Linked DNA regions of Homo sapiens: regions 2 and 3 are each linked to region 1. The links are contacts of gene promoters, found by promoter capture Hi-C in human tissues and cell types (Jung and others, 2019). All regions are on one chromosome and are shown on one strand. The core of a region is centred on a gene start or on the middle of the fragment in contact, and the rest is flanking DNA. Distances in the headings are between cores, read along the strand shown.

Evidence for each region. Contacts are between HindIII fragments. The study calls those that stand out against the background at their distance.
Region 2: a contact is called between a fragment that was not itself captured here and the fragment with the promoter of NKAIN2 in region 1, in 2 of the 25 tissues and cell types used here (dorsolateral prefrontal cortex and hippocampus).
Region 3: a fragment that was not itself captured here is called in contact with the fragment with the promoter of NKAIN2 in region 1 in 1 of the 25 tissues and cell types used here (hippocampus).

The regions. Positions count from the first base shown.
Region 1 is chr6:123,802,134-123,806,183 of GRCh38, forward strand. NKAIN2 (sodium/potassium transporting ATPase interacting 2) reads left to right here and starts at 1,732. Exons shown (of 7, transcript NM_001040214.3): 1 at 1,732-2,121. The coding sequence starts at 2,068. RefSeq lists an enhancer at 488-537. The HindIII fragment of the contact is 12,261 bases long and covers 1-4,050 here.
Region 2 is chr6:124,000,361-124,004,410 of GRCh38, forward strand. All of the region lies in intron 1 of NKAIN2 (sodium/potassium transporting ATPase interacting 2), which reads left to right. Among named protein-coding and RNA genes, the nearest start is that of NKAIN2, 200 kb to the left of the region's middle. The HindIII fragment of the contact is 6,679 bases long and covers 1-4,050 here.
Region 3 is chr6:123,956,298-123,960,347 of GRCh38, forward strand. The region is part of intron 1 of NKAIN2 (sodium/potassium transporting ATPase interacting 2); the gene reads left to right. Among named protein-coding and RNA genes, the nearest start is that of NKAIN2, 150 kb to the left of the region's middle. The HindIII fragment of the contact is 4,534 bases long and covers 1-4,050 here.

The sequences.
Region 1 (4,050 bases), core at 482-2,981:
GAAGAAAAGCCCCTTTACAAATGGGTCGATTAAAACCAGACATTCTCATTATAGCAATAAAATATCTGTGCTCCATAAATTTAACAAAGTTAATCCCTTTTTGGCTCCCTAGGACTGACGAAACGTTTCTGAAAATTCAGTGCCAGGCTCTGGAGAATAGTCTCTCTGCCCTATTCAATTTATTTGTATTTAGTCATTCTGATACGTCATAATGTTTATTCAAAGGAAGCAATCATTCGGGATCCTTATTTGTGGTTCCCAGCATAACTTTATCCTGTATAAATGCCATTTTTCTCAGTAGGCGCCAAGTTCCAGTTGCTACAGAGAGCTCTCTGCTTGATGTGGCTTCGTCATCTTAATCTCTTAAGAAGGGTGCTAGGGAGCTGTTTGCTATTTAGCTCCCTAAACCATCCTCTTATCAATCGCGACACTTCACCCCAATGAGTCAGTTCCTCAGTGGATCTCAACAAATAATCTTCACTTCCTGGAAAAGTTAGGATTGCTTTCCTTAGCTGCCAGGGCTAAAAAGGAAACTTGGTCCTAAATATCCACGCCCCAGGGGCAGCCACTTGGGCCAGCATGTTGCGCCCTTCAGCTTTCCGCCCGCAGGTGGCAGCAGCGGGCTCCGAAGCCTGTCTCTGCAGGTAGCAGCCGCTTCACAGCTTTCAGGCCGGTGCTCAGCGGAGGCTGGTGCATCTCCACTAGGAATCCACACCCAGCTGGGACTGCTGTGAAGCTGAAGTAACTGAGTATTAAACTAGTCTCCGACTCTTTAGTATTTTAAGTGAAAACAAACAACAGTTTGAAGCAGCAACAGCAACTCATTGCATCCCTATTCCCTCCGGTTGCTAATTTTTCCCAACTCCAGCAGCAACTCGGTCCCCTTCCCCAAGCAGGGTCGGCTCCGTAGCTCTCCGCGCTCCGACCCTTCAGATCCTCGGGAGCCCAGGGGAGCCAGGTGCTGGGCGGTGCGTCCGGTGCCGCCGCGCCCCTTCTCGCCACCTCTGGCCTCTCCGCCACTCGGGCTTTCCGGCCGCTCTGGATGCCTCGGTTGCACCCCTGTTCCATGACCCCAGCTTCCTTCCCTAACCCTCCTCTTGGTCCCTTCTCCCCCGAGCGCGCGCGCACACACACACTCGGTTCGCTCCCGCGGAGTGGCTCTGGGAGCACGACCGACTTCAGCTCAGCAAACCGCGGTCATGCCGCCCAGACTCCTCGCCCCGAGGCCCCGGTCCCCGCCGCCGCCGCTTTCGCGCCGCTCCTTTCCGCCTAGACACCGCCGCCTGCGGCCGCCTGGGCGGCAGCCCCTGCGGTCCTCAAAGTTGGCCCCCTGGGAGGGGGCGGCAGGGAGCAGGATGAAGGATTTGTTGTAGGAGGAGGATTCACACATCTGGGCGAAGGGAGGGGCAGCGCCGCTGCTGGGACGCGGCGCGGACCCGCATCATTGCGCGCAGCAGCCGCTGCAGCAGCCGCCGGGGACCGCGGAGCCGGGACGCCCCCGCTCGGCCCGCGCCCCGCTCCCCGCCCCACCCCCGCCCGCCGGGCCCAGCAACGCAGGGTGCCTAGGAGCCGCGGGCTGCGCAGGGAGGCGGGCAGCGGCCCTCGCGCGCTTCTGCCGCCCCCGGAGCCGGCGCGCGGCGAGCGCAGGGCGAGCGCGCGTCGGGCGGCGGCCGCGCTGGGGGGCGTGAGGCGAGCGGCGCGGAGAGCGGCAGGGGCGAAACTTCGCGGGCCAGATGCCCGAGGGCGCGGCGGCGCTGCCAGGCTGCCGCTGCTGCCCCTGCGGGCCCCGAGCGCGCCTCCGCAGGCGGCACTGCCCGCGGCGCGGCGTGTGCACCGAGCGAGTGAAGGTATGTGTGGCGGGCGCGGCTGGAGCTGCCGCCGCCGCCGCCGCCGCGCCAGCAGGTCCTAATGCCTGTCACTTCCCAGGACGCTGGCAGCAGCAGCAGCCCGGAGCCCCCGAGCCCTCGGCAGGTTTGCGTGTCCTTCCCCGCGATCTGATTGGATAAAGTGGGGGCTCGACGGTGGCCGACGTGGGACAGTCTGGCTGTGGCAGGGGTCTCGGAAACCATGGGTTATTGCAGTGGCAGGTGCACGCTTATCTTTATCTGTGGCATGCAACTGGTAAGTGACACTTGGGTCCCCTTATTCTGTAATGTGTCTTTGAGATAGTGGGCAGGGGAGTGCAGCAAAGGGTCTGCCATTGACTAGAATGGACGAAAAAGATAAAAGAGAAGGTGACAGATATATTGCCTATATTGAAGATGATTTCAGGGAGACGCACTCTGGGGTACAGGAGAGGTGAGCCTTTCCGTTCCCACCTATTTCTGTCCCTTTTAAGACAGTTTGGCAGGTGCGGGTTAAACTTGTCTTTAATTTCTTTAGGAAAAGCAAGATGTAGCTCTTGTTCTTTATGCTTTGCATTCCTATTCATGTAACAACGTGATTGTCACCTACAATTTACCGTACAGGTTGTTAAACAGAGGAATACGGAATTTTGGACTTTTCTTCTCTATACTAATTTTGCAGTATCTTTGTTTCTTCATAGACATGTTTTTTTTCTTTTTTTAAGGAAAATGTTGTCTTTAAGTATAATGCTCTAAAAAAACCACTGTTTAGGGCACATGGTATCCTTACAACAGTCTAATTTAGACTGTTTGAGTTTTAGCCACATTGAGTTTTTAAAGTATGCAGATTGAACAAAAATACTTAGGTGAACTCAGCAACACCATTGTCATAGACGGAACCAGTAACCTTTAAATCACAATTAACACAGACAATTCCAAGAAAAACTATTCTGTCTTACATTATGCATATTATTGCTCCTGAAATAGATACTGTTGTCTGATCCTATAGGATGGAGAATTCTATGTACTTTTTGAGGAATGTTGTACAGTTGCAAAGGGGCAAGGAACCAATAATGGAAAACGTCATGTCTCTGAATTTCAATTCCCTAAGGGCAATGGAAGGAGGGTCTGAGTAGAGAGTTGAGAGGTGAAAAATACACCACTCTAAGTGGTTAATTTGAGGTAGGAGCTACTTGCTCACACTTGTCATTAAATATATTTCCTTAGAAAGTATAAATTAACTGGAATAGTCATGTCCGTTTTCAACAACTGTTTCATAAAGGTTGAAGTGACTACAAGGCAGAAGATGTTTAAGTGTCCAATCAGTAAAGTGTTCAAAAGAGCAAGGATTTGCCATTGAAACTGGCAGAGGAATTCCTTAAGTGTTCTTGTTTATCAGTTGTCGTGAAGCCCATGAGTGTTAGTTATTGCTGCTTTGTTTAATATTTAGCTGAAACAGTGCTTTTTGTTGTGTGTTGTCTTAGGATGTTTTTCTTTCCCCTGAAAGTTATCTGATGGTGTCTATTTTGATCTGTGATTTATGCGCTTATGCACTTGGTTGTAAGACAAAGATGGAACTATAAATGTAATTTTCAGAATGTGGTAGTTTCTCAATGATGTGTAAACCAGTTTATTTTTCTGTACCACAGATTCATATAAGTTTTGCAATGAAGGATTTTTACTCTTAATAATAAAGCTAACCAAAACAATGAGGGAGTTTACTTTGTTAAACAACCCATTAGGCTAAGTCTGCCAAACTGTATAAAGGTTTTCAAAACATTCTTATTTTTATATATTATTCAGAAAAAGAATACATTTGCTGATTCACTGTGTGAAAGCATAAAAATGTGAGAATGAGTGGGTGTGTAGATCATTCTTATGCTCTTTTCGATTTAAAATTTGAAAAATGTGATTTAACTTCTAATCATGTAATATAATAGGGCTTTCTTATGGCAAATGTATGCACTAGGTCTGTATGACATTTTGTGTGATGAATACAAACTCCTCAAGAACTTAATTTTAGAAAAACATAAATATACCAGTAGGGAAGCTATCTATTCAAAGTAGAATGATAAAGCTAAAGGTTCCTTTGTGTTTTTATGTGCTCACATATGTGTGTATGTACATATGCTCTTGAGTACATGCATGCATCCATACATACAATGGTGTCTTGGAGAGTTGCACCATCACTTATGAAACAGAAATT
Region 2 (4,050 bases), core at 834-3,333, 200 kb after region 1:
AATATTTGTCTTGTATTTACCTTGGAAGCCACTAGCTTTTACTCAACTATAAAAGAAGCCTCAGGAGTGAATATAAAAAGAAAAAAAAATTATAGTAAGAGTTTGAGAACTAACCAATATACTTCATTAATACATTGAATTTTAGTGTGAGGAACAATATAAATTTCATGAAGCCGGATGAAAAAAGAAGAGATCCTTGTTATCTCTTCTGCCTTTTATTTTAACTCTGTGGATAATTTTTTCCCTATACGTCTAGAAACCTGGGTTCTTAAATTATCTCCAAAAATATACTCTGTAGGGTTTATAGCCTTTAAATGTAAGGGTAGCTAGAGAGCATGTTACTCTCACTAGGTAATGGGGTACATCTTTTTAACAGAAACATCCTTGAATTGCTAACACATATCTTCCACTCTGGTAGACTAAATTCTGTTATTTTCTGTTGTTTGTTGAGAAGATAGTTCAAAATCACACCAAAAAAGGCAGTGCCATTATTGTAAGTGTCATTGGCATAGATGTTTTTAATCTCACTGTAGCGTGATTCTTTGGTTAATTGTCTCTCTGCTGCACTAGTCTGTAAAAGCAGTACGTGTAAAAGCTTGTTCACCATTGACGTGAATGGTAGATCACCAACACTCACCACAAAGCTTGACACATATTACATTATATTAAAATATTGAAATATCCTGTGACTTGACCTCAGTGGAATTGGAATGTGAAAAACCATCTTTTCAGAAAGTTGTAGAAAACCAAATTTGGGGTACCATCCAATGGTGCTGAGAAACTGACTTTATAATCTGTTTTTATTTTTTTGCTTTTGGAGTGACTTTAGTTTGTAAACTTTTTTTTTTTGGCTCTTTAAAGGGAATAGCTTTTGAATGTTAGATTAGAAATCAGACTATGTACAGAGCTATTCAGCTCTGAAAACTGTGATAACTTGCTAAAGCTATGTTTACAAGGAGAAAGTAAAAAACAACATGAATGATTTTATAGTATATGTGGGCTGGTAAGGACAATTATAGAACATTTCAGTTATCCAGAACTATAAAGATTTAACTTCTAATTTTCATATAAATAATTTCAAAAATAGCAAAGAGGAAAAAGTAACATTGTTTAAAATTGATATCTGTCTGCATAACAGAGTATCATACACCACATTTCATTTACATAGACCTCTGGTTTTTAAAAAAATCATAATGAATCATGTGTTTCCTAAAATACTCCATTAATGTTACAACTAAATAAATAAATGTAGACATAGGAGTGACTACTATTAGGAAGTGAAAGAAAATTTATTTAGGTGCCAAATTGACAGTTTTTTAAATAATTGTTTTGTTTAGAAAGGTCACATAACATAAAAACAAGTGGATTCTATAAGAAATCAATTACTATTCAGTGTTTATACAACTTTTTAAATAGAAAAAGAAGTTCTCTTAGTTCTAAATATATATATATATATATATATATATATATATGCAAGCATAAATGTGCATTGCACAAGAGGGTTAGTTACTCAAAGGAGGAACATTATTTGCCATGCGTTAATTATCATAATTTTGCCATTTCCACATTGAATCATAATCATTGTTAATTTAAATACAATGGTATGTAACTTATTCATTCAACAAACATTTATTCAATCCCAGGAATGCACTAGAGTGCTATACAACAGTGATACAGAGACGAATTCATATGCTGAAGCAAATTCTAGTTGAAAAAGGAAATATCTTCATATTTGGCTTTCAATAAAAATGTTAATATATTAAAATTATAACCAAGTTCTATTGATATTTCTCCTGCATTCCACCTCTGATAATAAATAAACTCATCCTTCGGGCACTCTCTGAGTTGGATGCTCCCGGTATATCTAATGCCTGGATATTATCAGACATTCTCAGATAATACGTGGTTGGGGATAGAGGGAAAACATTAAAAATGGTAATAATATAAGGTAGCATATGTTAAGAGTGAAATGAATGGTTAATGAATAAATAGAGAAAACCTTATTCTGGGTGCTGAATCACTGAGGAAATTACAAAGAACTAAGTCCTCATGCTTTTTGCTTTTTAAAATTTGTTTTCCTATCTGTCCCTTTTTTTTTCCCCCTTACCAATCTCCTACTTCATTTTCTTTCTGAGTTATTTCAAATGTCTCCTTGGGTATTATCCTGACCAGTAATCCACCCTGCATATTATCACCAAATGAGTCATTCATAGACTGCTTTGGCCATAGACTATGATCTCCACCTTCTTTACTCTATTTAAGGTAGTTGGAAACCTGGCCTGGCGATGGCACTCATTCTCATTTAACTTGCTCCATTCAAAAGAAAGTGCTAACTTTCTTTTACGCCTTTATTGCAAAAAAGAATGAGAGAAAAGAGTAATCTTGAAAAATATAATTTAGTGAGAAAGAGCTGACAACCCTTGCAGTATTATACTGTACTTGAATTCACAAACGCTGAGCATGTGCTTTGCATGGTTTATAAATAGACTTTGGCAAGCTTTGAACTGCCCACACTGTGTTCTGAGCTTTGAGCAAAGCTCTGCTGGCATGCTGAACCAACTTAAGTTCTAATGTGAGTTATAAAAACACAAGGATGACTGGCTCCATTTGGAGCATTGTGTTAGCCAAGCAGGTAAAATAAATTCATGGTTAGACCTCCCCTCCCACGGCATCCCTTTCATTCCTCAGAAGATAATTCTGATATCTCTTCTTAACCAGAGCAGACAATGCAACTATTCCTCTTTACAGATACGATGTTTTATAAGTTAAAAGAACAAAATGAACAAAAAGAACACAACATTCATTTTATTGTTAGTCATCTACCAGAAAGTGGTAACATTGGGGATGGAGATAAAAATCTGGAGTCACATTTTCATAGACTTACACATTAGTGACATTGTTTAGACACTTACCATGTGCATTATTTTTTCTAAAAAGCATTCCTGGTAATGTGGGACCATCTTACATATTTTAATATTAGGTACCATACTCTTTCCATGGCTATATATGCATACAGATCGTTAAACTCAACATGAAAGAACCCATATTTCACCTCTGATGGTACCATCATCTTTTACCATTTCATGTCCTCATCTTTGGTAATGCCAAACTTGTTCAGAACTTGTTGATGGAATGCAAATTCTTCACCAAATGCTTTTGAATGGAGTGCCTAATATGTGTCTGGTACTGTTTTACCAACTGGATGTTTTAATTCTGGGGGCATTAATAAGACATGGAATTTTGTACACATAATACAGAGCTGGTATGGCAAAGTGAGTGGGAGTGACCTAAAATGTAACATATAAGGCCAAGCCAATGAGGTTTTGGGGGAACAGAGTTGCCTGTAACCACTGCCTGTTGACATCAGAGCTACAGAGGGGAGGAAGACAGTGAACAAAGGGCACTGCATTCTCAGGGCAGCAAAACAGCTGCAGGGGCTCAAGATGGGGCAGCAGGGATCTCAACAGGTGAATGGAGGTCTGCAATGGGAAATACAGAGTACATGCTTAAATATCAGTGGCGCAAGGATCAGTATCAGGCCAGATTGCCAGACTTTAAAGACAGAATGCAGACACTAGACTAGAAATTGACATAGGAAATTATAATACTGACTAGAGCTAAAAGTGCACAAAGAGAACATTTGGATTTTTGTGTGCATGTTCCATAATTTGTCTGGACTAAAATATCGAGCTAATTCCAAAGCAAGTAATAGCATGTGCTAATTATTTTCTTAGTCACTAACTTTATTGAATGAATGATTTTCCAAACTTGGATATGAACCACTTTTAATATCTTGGGAAAAAGTATCTGAATGCTATTCTGATCTCAAGTCTGGTTTTAGGGTTTATTGTAGTAGCCATTTAGATAAAATATCTGTGGTACGGTTCATTTGGATTAAGAACACATCAGAATCAGATCCTTTCATTCAAAAATATTTGTTTACAGGATAGATCTTCAGTAAAGAGAATGCAGCCTGAATCATTCAAATATATTTATGAGAAAGAATATAACTTACCTGAGTAATTCCTGGCCAGTCATAAAATGCTGAGG
Region 3 (4,050 bases), core at 561-3,060, 150 kb after region 1:
AAGCCCTAACTTCCAATGTGACTGTATTTGGAAACAGAACCTTAAAAATGTAATTAAGATTAAATAAGGTCATAAGGGTGGGACCCTAACCCAATAGGACTGGAGTCCTTATGAGAGAAGGAAGAAACACCAGCGCACACTCTCTCTACGTGTGCACACATAGAGGAATGGCTGTGTAAGGAGTAGCAAGTAGTCCCCTCTGCAAGCTGAGGAGGGAGGTCTCACCAGCAACCAACCCTGCTGGCACCTTGACCTTGGACTTCCAACCTCCACAACTTTGGAAAAATAAATTTCTGCATTTAAGCCACCCCATCTGTGGTATTTTGTTATGGCAGCCTGAGCTGATGAATAAAACAGGTGAGTATGTGGGGATATCCCCTCCATTGTTGTGTCTTCATTCCAGTTCTGAGTCAGGAGATTCTCGGAATTTCCTGGGAGTAACAGTTCCATCCAAGTTACAAGTTGCGTTAGGAGAAAGAAAAGGCTACACCTCAGAAATGATATAGCATTTGTTGCAAGAGCTCAAGCTAGCCTCTCTGTGAATCAGTGCAAAGAGAATAAAAGTAAATTCAATTAAAGACTTCTGTGATCCTATTGCCAAGTTTCTGTACAAAATCAATTATTATTATTTATTAACTTTTAAGTTCAGGAGTACACGGGCAGATTTGTTATAAAGGTAAGCTCATGTCATGGGGGTTTATGGTACAGACTATTTCATGCCTCAGACGTTAAGCCTAGTACCCATTAGTTATTTCTCCCGATCTTCTCCATCATCATCCTCCACCATCTGGTAGGCCCCAGTGTCTGTTGTTCACCTGTATGTGTCCATGTGTTCTCATCATAAAATCAATCATTTTTTATGCGTATAAATTGGGGTCAGATTAGGCTATGAAAGCACAGCATAGTATACAAAAATATTTTCAGCCTATAGAAAAATATTGTTAGTTAAAACACCTCACTGATACTTAACTTAAAAATAAGTAAATCATCATTATACTGAATCACCACCTCTTCTTTATCTTTTCAAAAATGGTCACACTAAAGTGACTTCCTTAGCAGATGTCTGGGTCTTTATTTTTGTATCATCAGCATCTAGCACAGCACTAGTTACATTATAGGAATTAAATAAAATATATTCGTTGAATACATGAATGCAATTAAATGGTGTATGTCTAGATTTTTCAATATATAGGGTATTTTCAATTATTGTTAACAGATCTAGATCAAACAAATTAATTTTGAAAAAGTCTTTACTTGTAAGAAATGATTATATATCTAATTATTTTCAAGGTTCTTCAACTCAACCGCCAGCTCTTATTTTCCTAACACAATCTTTGTTTTCAATTTAGATGTTTACAAATATATTAATCCAGCACTGGCTTGTTACACAATAGGAATGATCTACTTTCTGCTATAATTTATTCCTAGAAGAGGTGTGTCTTTATTATGCCTTATTAAATTAATGTATTACCCAAAAAATCTTTGTTTCTTAAAGTAATTAATAAGAGGATAAAAAAGAGGTTAAAATACAATTTGAAAAATTAAATTTCTTTTTTACATTAAACCTTAGTGTTTTTATTACATGATACATTTTACTGAAATTCCAGTCAATCACAATATTTAATGTGGGCATGCTGCTCTTATGGTTAGGTTGGATTGACTATGTTTTATGGAAAGAAAATATAAAGATAATATTACTAATTACATTATGATACTGGTAGTAATTTTAGGGGGAGAAGGCATATTTGCTGCTAGTGTGTCTTCTGTTAATCATATCTATTGTCCACCCAAGCTCTGGCCCTGAAAAGGCAGAAAGAAGAGCAGTTTTAGGGTCTCTGCCCTCCAATAGCTAGGACACCGACCAGTGTAGGAAGGTATCTTTAGGCCCTTTTGAGTTCTCCTGTACGTGTGACTTTGGAAACTGAAAGAGAATTTTTGAAGGAAAAAAAAAAATTGCAAATCATCAGAAATCATCAGGAAAAGAAACAGGTTTACCAAATCTGAAACCATATACTGTCCCATGCATTAGCCTTATCCCCATGAAGGCACCTGTGAGGCAGGATGCCCCAGGGACAGCAGTGTCTGCTCCGTCACCTCTGTGCACATGGAGCCATCTGTTACACCTGGCCACCAGTGCCTTCATGGAGTAGTTAATGTTTGAGTCTCCCTGAATTTTGGATTCATGTGTCCTCACATGGTGGACAGGCAAAGGGGCAAACAAATTCCCTCAAGCCTCTTTTAAAAGGACGCTAATCTCATTCTTGAGGGGTCTGGCCTCATGGCCTTGTCACCTCCCAAAGGCCCCACCTTTTAATACTTGCACATTGGTAATTAAATTTCAACATATGAATTTTGGAAGGACACAAACACTCAGACCGTAATAGCAAGCACTTACCACTGGCTATTACATATTTCCTCATCTATGTATTTGTCTTGATGTAAGATTCTTGAAAGGCGGGGCCTAGGCTGAATCGCTACGTCAACCTCAGAGCTTACAACAGTAATCAGTGCACCAATAAACATTTGTTTAACAGATGAGTGAAAGAATGAATGCTTATTCTTTATAGACCAGGAAGAAAAGAAAATGTTACTGTTACAAATGAGAAAACAAATTCCAAATGGCTAATAGTTTCCTTGGCAATTATAGGCCATTGGTAGCTTACATTATTGAGGACTTTTCTTTGAAACCAATCCCAGGGAAGCTTTCATCCCTAAGTGGGTGATTTATTCAAGTTATCAGTGTGAGTATTTGGCGGCTAAGGACCGGGAGAAGATGACAGAGGAAAGAGAGTTTGTGAGAGGGGTTTATATATGTGGTAGGTCTGTGGGTCTAGAAAATGAGTCAGGTTTTGCCAGGTGTCTACTTGGTAGAAGAATTAGAGGATAGCATTCTCCCTTTGGAACCATTTAATCCGTTGAAGTTGCAAGGTGCTGAGTCTGCTGTGGTCTAAAGAGTGAATCTGCTTCTATAAATGCCTCTTTAATATCATGGAGCCATGTGGAGCTCTTTGCCCTGTAGCACACAGTGGATCAGAAAGCACTGGGCCAGTGGTCCATGGCTTCCTGCATTGTGGCGGCCTACTCTGCCAGGAGTCCTTCAGGCAACTAGGCAAGAAAGAAGTGAGAAACATAGATTTAACACTGGCAACCACTGTACTCGCTTTACAATGCTTATTTTTGGAAAGTGGTTGTTGTAAAAACAATTCTTTATGTGTCCTTGAACATGATACTTCTTCAGTTTCCATTGTGATTGCCAAAGGGGTATATTCATACCCTTTTGAAATGAAGAAATGGATTCTCTATTGGGTTTGGCTTTTGTGTTTCTTAAACCTGTTAGCATCATGCATAGAGCAGAAATATATTAATTGAACTCTATGAAAATACTTCCTAACTCATAGTCTAACTCAGGTTTCAAATGACTACAGTGGCTAGGGAAGTTAGAATTTTTTTTCCCTAGAAGACATGTCTCATGATCTTTTCCTCTCTCTCTCTCATATATATATATGAGGGCTGTATATGGGGGTGGGGGGTACAATTGCATTTGTTACTTTTTTTCGGGGATTATCAGCCTAGGCAACAGTGCAAGTTCTTCCGGAGTCAGAGCAGAAGGAAATATGTCTTCCATATATGTGTGTGTGTGTGTGTGTGTGTGTGTGTGTGTGTGTGTGTGTGTGTAACACCATTCACACTTGAAAGTTGTGGGAATTTAGGAAATGAGAACTTTTGCCTATCTAAAGAGGTAAACACTGGAAGTTCCAGCTGATTTGTCATGTGGGTTTGCTGTGATGCAAGTTTGTATAATTGTTAAAATAAAGCTGAAAATATTATGTAAAAATTCTATATTGAATATTGGCATCTAGTTCTACTTTCTAAAAAAAATTGCCAGCCAACACTGTGCAGCATACTGTTCAAATTAAAGACACGTGTAAGCTGTGATTGGCTAATGGCCATCAGGTTGCGGTCTCTGGTTAAATGCTAACGGGCATCCATCTCCACATTTCCACCATTGCATTTGTGCCCAGTAAGCCCTTGCTGTTGTCATCACTTGCT